3 separate regions of the Homo sapiens genome follow, and regions 2 and 3 are each linked to region 1. Evidence: promoter capture Hi-C in 16 types of primary human blood cells and fetal thymus (Javierre and others, 2016). All regions are on one chromosome and are shown on one strand. Each heading gives the region's core, a stretch centred on a gene start or on the middle of the fragment in contact. The rest is flanking DNA. Distances are from core to core; before and after follow the strand shown. Region 1 holds the start of GTF3C6 (general transcription factor IIIC subunit 6). Region 2 holds the start of SESN1 (sestrin 1). Region 3 holds the start of AK9 (adenylate kinase 9).

Region 1 (3,902 bases), core at 886-3,385:
GGCCTCAAGTAACCTGCCTGCCTTGGCCTCCCAAAGTGCTGGGATTACAGGATTGAGCCACCTGGCCCAGCCTGGCATTTTTTTTTTTTAACTATAATCTGAGTCACGTTTGGGAAAATGATAGGATATGATACAGCTAGACAGTGGATACATGAGATATTTATTATGCTTAAGTATGATTGAAATAGTTCGTATTAAAAAGGGCTGGGCTAGCAATCACTTACCATGTTCAACATTTTCTTCAAATATAACACAGGTCCCTAGAGTGTCTGCAGAAAAATACAAAGGCAAATTGTTGAGAAGAGCTACCATCTCTGAAAAGCCCATATCAGAAAGAGTTCCATCTATCTGACATCCTCCTACCTTCATACTCCCCAGCAAAGACACAGCTGTCCACTTGCAGAATGGGCCTCTCAGTGTCAATGCCCTACAACAGAATAAAGGATCATAAAAAAAAAACATAATTAGAAAAAGGCTTCAACATTGTAACCTTGCTACCAAGGAAACTAATCTCCAAAACTGGGGAACCTCTAGAGCATCTTGTCCTACCAAGTACAGGATAAACTACAACTGCTCTGATCACAGCAGTTACAACCTGAAGACTACTTAATTCATACTCAAGTAACAAGGTTTATTTCAATCAACATCCTGTTCAAGAGTAAGCTAAAAACAGAGGAAGTTTTGTCAACAGTAGTGCAAAGAGTCTATCTGTCATCTATTTATTTTTTGAGACAGTGTCTAGCTCTGTCACCCAGGCTGGAATGCAGTGGCATGATCATGTTCAGGCAATCCTCCCACCTCAGCCTCCTGAGCAGCAGGGACCACAGGCGCATGCCACCATCCCCAGCTAATTTATTATTATTATTATTTTTTTTTTTTATTGAGATGGAGTTTTGCCCTTTGTTGCCCAGGCTGGAGTACAGTGGCGCGATCTCGGCTCACTGCAACCTCTGCCTCCAGGGATCACGCGATTCTCCTGTCTCGGCCTCCCGAGTAGCTGGGATTACAGGCGCCCACCACCATGCCTGGCTAATTTTTGTATTTCAGTAGAGACGGGGTTACACCATGTTGGCCAGGCTGGTCTCGAACTCCTGGGCTCGTGATCTACCCGCCTCGGCCTCCCAGTATTGGGATTACAGGCGTGAGCCACCGCGCCTGGCCATTTTTTTTTATTATTATTTTAGAGAAGGGGTCTCGTTATGTTGCCTAGGATGGTCTCCAATTCCTGGGCTCAAGTGATCCTCCCACCTCTGCCTCCCAAAGTGCTGAGAATACAGGAATATATGTACGGTTCCATATCACAATGTTACTTCCTCCAAATCTGTAACTTTCTCTTCAGCCACACATTCAAACAGGCAAGCAAAGTTAGCCATTTTCTCCTATCTGCTCCCATAGTCCCCGCTGTACTTCTACATTATACTTAATTACATATTAATTAATTATACTTAGTATACTTCTTATCCTTAGAGTTCACTACTTTGTAAGGTGAAATAAATATATCAATACTTGCGGATAGGTATTTCACCATTGATTCTTGTTTTACATTTAAGACACTCTAGAACAATCCCCCCAAGTCTAGAAAACTCACCAAAACCTTGCATTTATTTTCACATTTTGAGAGGAAGTCTGAATCAATAATTCCTGATAATTCCACCAGAACCAACTGCTCCTGGTGAAAGAAAGAGGGGTTAACATGCTAGCACGCGAGCGGCCAAGAGGGAGCAATTAGCAAAAGAAGCCAAATTTCCCACATTTGTGAAAACCGGACCCTGTTTTCAGCAAGAGGAAACTACGCTACCTAAGGTAACTTCCCGGTACTTCCCATCCCAAGTACGGGGTGACGATTAGGGCTAAGGTCCCAAGCTGCCCGGCTCCTCGCGCCCAGGAGCAAGAAGCCGGTGAGGAGCAGTGGGGCCTCCCTCCGGCCCGCAGCTCCCCAACTCCCTTCCCCACACACAGCCAGCACAGGCATCACCGCCACTGCGGTGCAGGCTTTTGGCGTAGCGCTTACTACCTCCTCTTCCTCGTCTTCTCCGTCCTCTGGACTCCGCTCGTCCGCCGCCGCCGCCATGGTCCCGCGGCGCCTCGCCTTCTAGTCACTGGCCACGCCCGCCCGGAGCCGCCATCTTGAGTACGGGCTTCAGCTCCGAGGCGAAGCAGCTTATTGGGTTCCTGCCGCTCCGCTCCTCGCCGCGCAAATTGCTTCTGCCAGAACTCGAGATGTCGGCTTCCGGCGGGCGGGTGGCTACGGGCGCCGAGAGCGCCGGTACCCACGTGGAGACTCGCCACGGGCCTCCTCGTTTCTCGGTGCCTCAGAGCAGGGGCTGGGGGTGGGCTGCCGTAGGCAGCGGAGCCCGCTCGGTCACGCAAGAGTCGCCGGGCTCTCGGCCCCGCTGGCGGGGAGGACTGGCAAGGCAGAAGGGATAAAGGCGAAAACAAGGAAACCATGGTTTCAGGCGGATCATGGACAGAAAGGCCTTGTGTTTGACCCGAGCACATTTCTTGGAAAGAAATTCTTAATATTGTGTGAGCGCTCATCCTCAATTCAACGTACCCCAAGCCAAGTTAAAGGCACATTCAGTTTAATACTAATGAGCGCCTACACAGTAAAAAGCACTGCACCAGGAGCTATGAAAAATAGAAAGTGGGCTTAAGTTTCAGGCCTGCAGGAGCATAAGATCTGTGAGAGGTACATAAATGGATCCAAGCAAGTGCTGTAAGAGATACACATTGTTATAGGAACACAGAGACCTGGGCAAGAGAAGTTTGAACAGAATTTTCAGAAGTATCCCATAGATGTTTGTGATTGTGAAAGAAACGGTCTTCGTACTTGCGATAGCGTGATCTAGTGGTTAAGATCGTGAGTTTTGGATTTTTATTTATTTATTTATTTGGAGATGGAGTTTTGCTCTTGTTACCCAGGCTGGAGTGCAATGGTGCAATCTCGGCTCACTGCAGCCTCCACCTCCCGGGTTCAAGCGATTCTCCTGCCTCAGCCTCCCGAGTAGCTGGGATTATAGGCATGCGCCACCACGCCCGGCGAATTCTGTTATTTTTAGTAGAGACGGGGTTTCTCCATGTTGGTCAGGCTGGTCTCGAACTCCCGACCTCAGGCGATCCCCCTGCCTGGGCCTCCCAAAATGCTGGGATTACAGGTGTGAGCCACCGTCCCCAGCCTGAGCTTTGGATTTTAATACCAGTCAAGTTCTGCTGCATTATTAACAGCAAGGCTTTGGGCAGATTGGTGGTTGTGAGGATTAAATGAGACAATACATATAAAATAAATTTAGCCCAGTATTCAGCACATAGTAAGCATTTAAAGTGCATTTAATCTATTATTAGTAGTAATATATAAATTTTTTAGTATGATGCTCTTTCTCTCTTTCTTTTATTCATTGTTTGTTTCTTTCTTTCTCTCTTTCTTTCCTTTCTTTTTTGTGACAGGGTCTGGCTCTGTCGCCCAGCCTGGAGTGCAGTGGCGCCATCGTAGCTCCCTGTACCCTCAAACTCCTGGGCTCAAAGGGAGCCTCCTACCTCTGCTTCCTGAGTAACTGGGACTACAGGTGCACGCCACAGCGCCTGTCTTTACATAATGGTTGTATGAGTGTGCCATAACTTGATCCTCTATTTTTTAACACATAGGTTATTTACAATTTGTGGATATTGTAAATAACACTCTTTTGTGTATATTTTTGTCCAGTTGCCTAATTAAATGTATAGGATTTCATAGCTTAAAAAAGTAGAAGGAACACTGGACCTGTTAGAAGTACATTTCAATTCTAGCTCTGAAGCTTAATAATTGTGAAGTTTTCCAACCTCAGTTTTCTTATTTATTATATGAGGATGAAAATAATTATACTTAACACCGGGTGCGGTGTCTCAAGCCTGTAATCCCAGCACTT
Region 2 (3,902 bases), core at 685-3,184, 1.9 Mb after region 1:
TGGTTTTTGTTTTGCTTTTTCAATCACACTCATAAGTTATTCCCTTTTTAAAATTCAGATTCAAACTAGAAGTGTCAGAATGTAACAAGGCTTTTGAAATTAGACCAATTCATCAGAACTATGCATCTATTCAAAAATAGCTCACTTACAGAAACGATGTAAAGAATTCACAATACCTGTCTCTTTGTAGCTTCTAAGTGCATCAATACACAAAAAGCACCCTTCCCGTCCCACCCCACACCGCCAAGTATGCATGATTTGGCTTACTGACGTTTCCTGAAAGTACCCTATCTCTCACTCTGGGCCTTAGCATATGCTGTTCTTTTGGTCTTCATTTCCCCTGGGATGAAGATTTCCCTGACTTTCCAAGATTGGGCTAAGTCATCTCCTTCTAGACATCCCAGTGATATCATGTATTATTGTAACCGTATGTCTAACAACTAGTTCCTCTAACTAGTAAGACTGTCTTTTTCATTGTTGTATACTCAGTGCCTAGCAAGACGAAATTTTTAGAATTTAGTGCAATGCAATTCTGCAATGTAAAGAATTAAAATCTACACCGATTATCAGTCCACTGATGGCCGTTCAAACCTCGACTTTTCTCAAATAATAACTTTTTAAAAGCAAACTAATTTTAAGCAAATGACTGAATCTTTTGAAAAAGTCGACTAAGTTTTGGAGACTTTTACGGTTTTGCTTTCTTTTTCCTGCTGTATCCTTAAAGCCTGCAAGAATTCCTATCTAGGAATACTGGGGATTCTTTTACGAGATGGATTTGACAACTTGCTTTCAAAGCCCTGCCTAGGATTTCATTTGACTGAGCAAATAAAGCCCAGAACATCCCTAAGCAAAGGCAAACAAAGGTGCAAATGCGCGGAGATCCCAAATCCACCCCGCGTGTGTCCACAAAAAAGGGCGGAATCAGAGGCAGCAGCGCGAAGCTCCAGTTTCCACAGCATCCTTCCTTCTTGGCCTTACTTAGGCCGCTCCCTGCGACCCTTGGGATCAGGATCCCAAATCCTTGCCTCACCCACCACACCCCGCGCTTGGGCAGCTGGACTAGTCCTTCCCACGCAAGTCACTGGAAAAAGTCCTTGGACTAAGGGAGGCCACCCTAGATGGCTTTGTCTCCAAAATCCCAGAGGAAATGGAGGAAGGAAAAACCCTGTCAAGGAAAGGTGACAACCCAGCTTACAGTGCTTACCAAGCAGACGCTCTCAGTCAGCCCCTGCCACCGCTAACCGTTGGTTCGCGGGCACCCACAGGCAACGTCGCGGTGGCCCCTGGGGGTTGTAGTTTCTGTCGCAAACAAAACGCGCCGGCAGCATCGAAACTACATTCCCCACAAGTCAACGCGAAGACGTCCTACCGACTTAAATCTGGGGTTTGGAGTAATGAAGAGGCCGTCACTACTTTTAGGGTGATCTTAAATGTAGACTCAATTTCTTCCAGGAGTCCCTTCGCGCCCTCTTTCTTTGTCGTGCTTGTTTTATGTGTGACGAAGTCTCAGTGTACTTCTACGTCTTACTTTTTCCTTCCCCTTCTCCAGGACAGAGTCCAAACGTCCGGGAACGGAAACCGCCTCAGGGCGCAAGCTTAGCGCCTCCGGGGGCGCTTGGCCCAGTTCGCAGTCACGCATGCGTAGCAGCCGGCAGTGGCTGGCAGCCGCGCGCGGCGCACTTGGGGTCCGGAGGGTAGCCTGCCAGAGGGCGGGGCTTTTTCCTAAGGCTTTGCCTCGGCGGGTCGCGTCTGCCTGGGCGGGGAAGAAGGCGCTGGGGCCGGGGCGGCTCCCGGTTTGTGCCGGGCGGAGAAAGGGGAGGGGCTGGGGGTGAGGACCCCGTCTCCACTCCCTGCTCCCGCCCTCTGGGCTGATCCCCACCGATGGGGCTGGGCGAAGGGCGGGCTTTGCGCCTCGGGCCCCGCCGCCCCGCCAGCTCCGCGGCCCAGCCTGGCGCTCGAGGATTGCCAGGGCCGCCCTGTGCCCTCTGGCTCGGCGGTGGTGGGCGAGGGCTCAGGGATCGGAGAAGTAGCGTCTTCCCGGGGGTGCCGAATTGGCGGGGCTGGGGGACGCTTTTTTTCACCGCCGCCCGCCGAGACTACGGCTGCCCGAGACTGCCGCCCTCCGACAGCGCCCAAGCCTCCGGCCGCTGCGGCCAGTGGGCCAGGGTTCGGCGAGCCTTCCCTGCCGGCGCCGGCCGGCTGCTGAGGCGCTGGGAGGAGCTGCGGAGGGCGGGGACTGGTGTCGGAGAAGGGGCGGGGTGGGAACGCCGGAGAGAACCCGGTGGCTGCACAGACAAAAAAGCCCCGAATGGCTGGAGGGCGTTCAGCTGTTAACAGCCTTTTGGGGCAGAGCACGGATTTGACAGCTCCACAACGTGAGGATATCCACTGACCCCGCGAGACGGAGGAGAACGCTTCCCCGAAATTCTCTGCCCACCAAAGCCAGCGCTGCAAGGTTGCAACTTTCAAACTTTGTTTTTCCAGAAAGAAGACTGCCCTTTCGTGTACAAGGAGAGGGTGAGAGGGTGACCTAGCTTGTAGATCGGCTGAAGGCACCAGTGGTTCCAAATGTCACCCAGATGTGTGTTTTCATGACGATTTGATTTCTCTGATTTTATTTTTACATTTTTCATTTTAAAAATACAAAGCAATTTTTTTGGGGCATGCTGAAAGGTAACTGAAGACCGCAAAGGAAAAACTATTGTCATGGCTGAAGGAGAGAATGAAGTGAGATGGGATGGACTCTGCAGCAGAGATTCAACTACTAGGGAGACAGCATTGGAAAACATTAGGCAAACCATTTTGAGGAAAACCGAGTATCTTCGTTCGGTGAAAGAAACACCTCATCGTCCATCAGACGGGCTTTCAAATACCGAGTCTTCGGATGGGTTGAATAAGCTACTTGCTCATCTGCTTATGCTTTCTAAGAGGTGTCCCTTCAAAGATGTGAGAGAGAAAAGTGAGTTTATTCTGAAGAGCATCCAGGTAAGGAAGAGCATTTTAAATACAACTATGTCTCTACTACAGTTAAATTTTACTTGCCGTTATTCACGTTGTGTTTGTTTCTATTAGGTTGTTATGTAAACTTTTATTATGAGTTTACATCTTTAGAGTGTTCTGTAAGTAAACAAGTAGTGTTTTTCTAGAGTTTTAGGCAGAAACTGCTTTGCTCCTGGAAGAATATATGAAAACTACAGTTAATTCCAAGTAAATACTTGTTTTTCCTTATATTTCTTTTTACATGTTGTTGGAAAATGTAGCCAGTGTTTTTTTTTCACATTGTCACAGTGTTCTGAGTGTAAAGGCTCACATTTAAAAGCCTCTAAAATGATAAAGGATATTAAATGTTTCCTAGTCAGCCTGTTCAAGATAATTGGTGGAACAATTTTCTCTTATTTTTAAAAACAAAACAAACCAGGATGTGTTCTCTAAATGCAACCTCTCTTTTTTCAAGAAGAGAATTATATAAAATAATAAAAACCTATCTTAAAAGAAGCTAATATCTTCATGTTGAAAAGGTGGACCCAGGTGGGGTATTTGATAGAAACACTTTTATGGCAAATTGCTCAACTAGCTTTCTCTGTGTTTGCCTGAATTGTTTCTTTTTCACATGTGTAGCTATTTAAGATACGAGTGCAGCAGGTTAAAAATATTATAGTTTTTCCTCCATTTCGTTCATAATTTATCCTGTTTTATTACAAGGTGTCTTAGAATACTTTTTTTTAAGTTTTTAGATATTGACAATATTCAGCAACACCTTATATATGCTTGTCAATCTTTACATTTCTCAATCCACGTGTGTTGTCCAAAGTCCTGTATGAGAGATTTTTAAAATTTAAAATGTACTTGGGTAACTATGTAAGTTAAAAGTGACAGTTTTTATATACTGGCTTGAATTTAGT
Region 3 (3,902 bases), core at 462-2,961, 1.3 Mb after region 1:
CTGGCCAACATGGAGAATCCCTGTCTTTTATTAAAAACACAAGAATTAGCCGGTCATGGTGTCACATTCCTGTAATCCTAGCTACTTGGGAGGCTGGGGTGCGAGAACTTCTTGAACCTGGGAAGCAGAGGTTGCAGTGAGTGAGCCGAGATAGCACCACTGCACTCCGGCCTGGGTGACAGAGCAAGACTCTGTCTCAAAGGGAAAAAAAAAAAAGTTATTTATGTTTCTAATGAGGGAAATTTAGCAGCATATTTTACAGAAAATAGGTTTCATTTCAATGACAAATGATACTTCTTTATGGGTCTCATTAGAGAACTGAAAATACTTGCAAATACAGTATATTTGATAATGTCATTTTCTGCTCTAGATCTAATCAAAGTTGTCAGCAAAATTAATTTAAGGTCCACAATTCTCTACTCATGTTAACCTGAGGGAGAGGTTATTGTGCTATTAGGACTACGTTATAACTGAGAAACTGTTAAATGCCTTCTCATACTCCTCTAATGGAGACAACCCAAGTTTCAGAGAAACAGTTTATAAAGCACTCTATAACATAGTGAAGAGCATTATGAAAATATCTGGCATATGCAATCTTGTTAGCATGAAATGGGTAATATTAAACACAGTCCCTAATATCACTGTGGCACCCCAATTTAGAAGAGCTATACTGTACCAACTTTGCTTTCCACCCACAGAAAGGACCAAGTATGAAGTTATATAAACACCATTCTCCCTTAATTGAGGAACTGGTAATCGAAATACAAACTGATCTGCTTATTCACTATTTACATGGCCATTCAAAGTAATAAAATTTTAAAAGTAAATGTTATGTTGAAAAAAGTCAAGTGAAAAGCAAGATGTTATCCAAACAAATTATCTGTCTTTAAACAAAGTAAGTTTTCCTTTCCTTTCAAATAAGAAAAAAAGAGAACCAAAAAGTTCACCAATAGAAGTGTAATTCACATGAATCGCAGTGATGGTATACCATGGAATAGGAAAAAATAAGTTACAAGTCATAGTTCAAATTTTTTTCATACCCCTGCCTGTACTGTAACTTGTGAACTCTAGAACTTTAACAGACTTTCTGAAAGCTGAAAAGAATCCAGTAACTCGTACAGAGAACCTCATGAACAGTTCCTGAGGTACCACAAGCACCTGTTTCCAGCGTGTTCCAGCCATGGCTTGTAAGTGGACCTGCAAATGCTGCAATGTCCAGGGTACCAAAATAGGGGAAAGGCGCCCAGGCACAGCTCAAGGGAGCTAGCTTACCCCAAGGCTGTGTTTGACAGGGATTTGGGAACTGGAGAGGAAGGAGGAGGAGGCAGAGTACAGCCTCTGTCCTACGGCCCCACACCCACCGGCAGACATCCATCCTCCCGCCTGCGCCCCGCCGCGAGGGGGTACTCACAGCTCTAGTCTCATACAGAACCAGCTTCTGGACCGAGCTGATGATGGGGGCGGCGGCCGTGGGCATGGCGGCGGCAAATGGGGGCCCCACAACAGGGCACGAGCCTCCGGACCGCCCCAGGAGACTCGGCGAGAAAACCCCTCAGGCCCTGGACATCAAGTCCAGCCAGGAACAACACCCATTAGGCACTAAACCTATAGATGATCAGGTGTTTCCGGATCCCTGCGCCCCGCCTCCAGGCAAGCCCCGCCCCTCACGTCGGGAGCGGGGCTGGAGGACGTATCATAGAGAGGTCGGGTAGAGGCTCCCGGGACCTGCGTGCTGCCGAGAGAGGAAGCGAAGGGCACCATCTTTGGTAAGGATTGGAGGAAAACATGGGCGGAGAAAAAGTCGACGGATTAATTGAGTCTATTTATCTCCTCCCTCTCTTTGGAAAAAAGCGGAAGGTTTGGGATTGGGTAGCTTCTTTTGAAAAGGGTTCTCCGAGTTGCAGGATAGATCCTTGTGTTTTCCCTGCCTGCTGCGGCCCATTTTCCTGGAAGCCGGCCCTCTGACGGTCCTTCACTGAGTGTCAGTTTTCCCCTCACCTCTAATCCATGTTGTACCTACGCTGTGTGGCCCAAGAAATTGTTTTAAAATCACCTAAAGCTGGAAAGTGTGGCTTTGCCACACGTTTGTGCGTGAGGCTAGCCACTTGAAGTTGTCGACAGAGACTAGCGCAGTGTGGCGGAGCCGCGCTTGAAATGAGGTTTCTTCATTTCATGTGTGCGACATAAATGGGCATGCGCGTACCCTCTCTTCCATAGTTGTGAAAATGAGTGTATTATAATTATAAATGCCAAATTAGGTACAAAAGTGACTATTTCGAATTGGAAAAGAAATGACAAAGAACTACAGCCCCGCCTCTCGAGGCCCCGCCCCACCAAGCAGCAGGTGCGTGGCGGCCAGAGGTCTCCCCGGCAACCGCCCGACAGCCCCGCGGAGTCCCTGGAGGCAGTTGCTTCCCTGAGGAGGGTCCGGCTGCGGCCAGGTAAGGAGCCTTCCGGCGGCCCGCTGGGTCGTGGTCCGCCCTGGAGGCATCTTGGTATCTGTTGCACGGAACCCCGCCTCCTGCGGGGACCCCCAGACCAGCTTCTTTTCTTGCAAAACGGTCTCTTTGTAAATCCACTTTTTAAAACCACGTCTCCTTTCAACGACTGAAGTATTTATTCCACAAATATTTACTGAACACCTACTGCAAGAGTATAAGATGTAGGGGAGAGGCAGCTATCCTATCTTAGGCGGCAATTCTAGGTTTCCCAGGAAACCTCTAAACCTCAGAAACCTCTGCTAGAGGGCTTCTCAACTGCTAAGTGTAAGGAAACTTTAAAAAAAAATTATAGAATTATAGCATACCCAGATAACATTCATGTAATACCAAAGATCATATTGTAAATTAAAATTTGAGAAATTACAAAAATTGTAAAGAAATACTTAAGTCTATGTTATTTTGCGCTTCTTTCCCCCTGTAGTTTGGTACTCCTTTTATTAAGAACTAGAAGGATGGCCGTGTCCGTTCTGGCATTTTGGACTTGGATCTTTTAACTGGGAAAAATAGTTAGCTGTGTTCTGTTTCATAATGAAACCAACTCTTCTGAATATTAGTTAAATGTTTGCACAGTGTTTTTATCTAGGATAGCAACTCTTAAAATACCTGAAGGATTCTAGTTTTCAATTATTATAGTTTAGCACTTCCATTTTAACTTTATCTTAGTTTATTTCACCCGGAATCAGATCCTAAGACAAAACTTTGAAGGCAGGTTGTTTATATGAGACGTAATCCCAGGAAACAGCAGCAGGGAGGGGAAGAAAACTAATAAAGGAAATATTACCAGAGAAATTTCTCTGTGGGCTGAATTCACTAGGGAATACTGGGAGGCATGTCTCAGTTATCCCCTCTTGAGGGGCAAGGAAGCTGGAGTATTTATTCGCCAACTTCCATCAGTTATTGGATGAAGCCTGATAGGGCAGAACATTGATGCCCTAGAACTTCCAGTCTACCCTGTGTTCAGGGAGAGTAGGTTCTGGCAGCCAGAGAAAGCCCTTAGGCAAAAAGTCGCACATGCTAACATTTTGGAAGTTGGGCTGGTCGTGCATAGAAAAGGTGTATGTCAAGTGGATATGGGGGAGGCACTAATAGCAGCTGCTACATTCCACCCTTTGCAGCACTCGTATCCATTCTTCCTCCACATCAAGTTCACACCATGCCACCCTAATTCTTTAAGGTAGTGGCTAGTCTCAATTTTTAAAAGAAAAGGACTTACAAAAAAAAAGATTAATGGGACAAGCTGCAGAATCCACTACTGCAATTAATCTGAGGTCTCTAATTGATCATCTCCTTCCTCTAACATCATTCTAGATTTTCCTTACTCTTGGCCAACACTTCTGCTGGTCTGTGTTTGCCCAGTAGGATAACAAGCTTTCATCCCTGAGGAGCATAAGCCCTTGGTTA

Evidence for each region. The method cuts DNA at HindIII sites, captures the fragments that hold promoters and counts their contacts. A CHiCAGO score of 5 or more calls a contact.
Region 2: a contact is called between the fragment with the promoter of SESN1 here and the fragment with the promoter of GTF3C6 in region 1, in 1 of 17 cell types (activated CD4 T cells). The highest score is 6.0, in activated CD4 T cells.
Region 3: a contact is called between the fragment with the promoter of AK9 here and the fragment with the promoter of GTF3C6 in region 1, in 1 of 17 cell types (total CD4 T cells). The highest score is 5.9, in total CD4 T cells.

The regions. Positions count from the first base shown.
Region 1 is chr6:110,956,939-110,960,840 of GRCh38, reverse strand. It overlaps GTF3C6 (general transcription factor IIIC subunit 6), which reads right to left and starts at 2,135. Exons shown (of 6, transcript NM_138408.4): 1 at 2,015-2,135; 2 at 1,589-1,669; 3 at 364-427; 4 at 225-269. The coding sequence starts at 2,071. RefSeq lists an enhancer at 1,813-2,262. The HindIII fragment of the contact is 8,604 bases long and covers 1-3,793 here.
Region 2 is chr6:109,092,878-109,096,779 of GRCh38, reverse strand. SESN1 (sestrin 1) reads left to right here and starts at 1,934. Exons shown (of 10, transcript NM_014454.3): 1 at 1,934-2,985. The coding sequence starts at 2,707. CEP57L1 (centrosomal protein 57 like 1) reads right to left here and starts at 1,273. Exons shown (of 11, transcript NM_001271852.3): 1 at 1,205-1,273. RefSeq lists enhancers at 1,287-1,546, 2,417-2,566 and a silencer at 1,607-2,306. The HindIII fragment of the contact is 3,523 bases long and covers 1,598-3,902 here.
Region 3 is chr6:109,689,011-109,692,912 of GRCh38, reverse strand. AK9 (adenylate kinase 9) reads left to right here and starts at 1,711. Exons shown (of 41, transcript NM_001145128.3): 1 at 1,711-1,766. FIG4 (FIG4 phosphoinositide 5-phosphatase) reads right to left here and starts at 1,617. Exons shown (of 23, transcript NM_014845.6): 1 at 1,412-1,617. The coding sequence starts at 1,477. RefSeq lists an enhancer at 1,664-2,133. The HindIII fragment of the contact is 5,228 bases long and covers 1-3,871 here.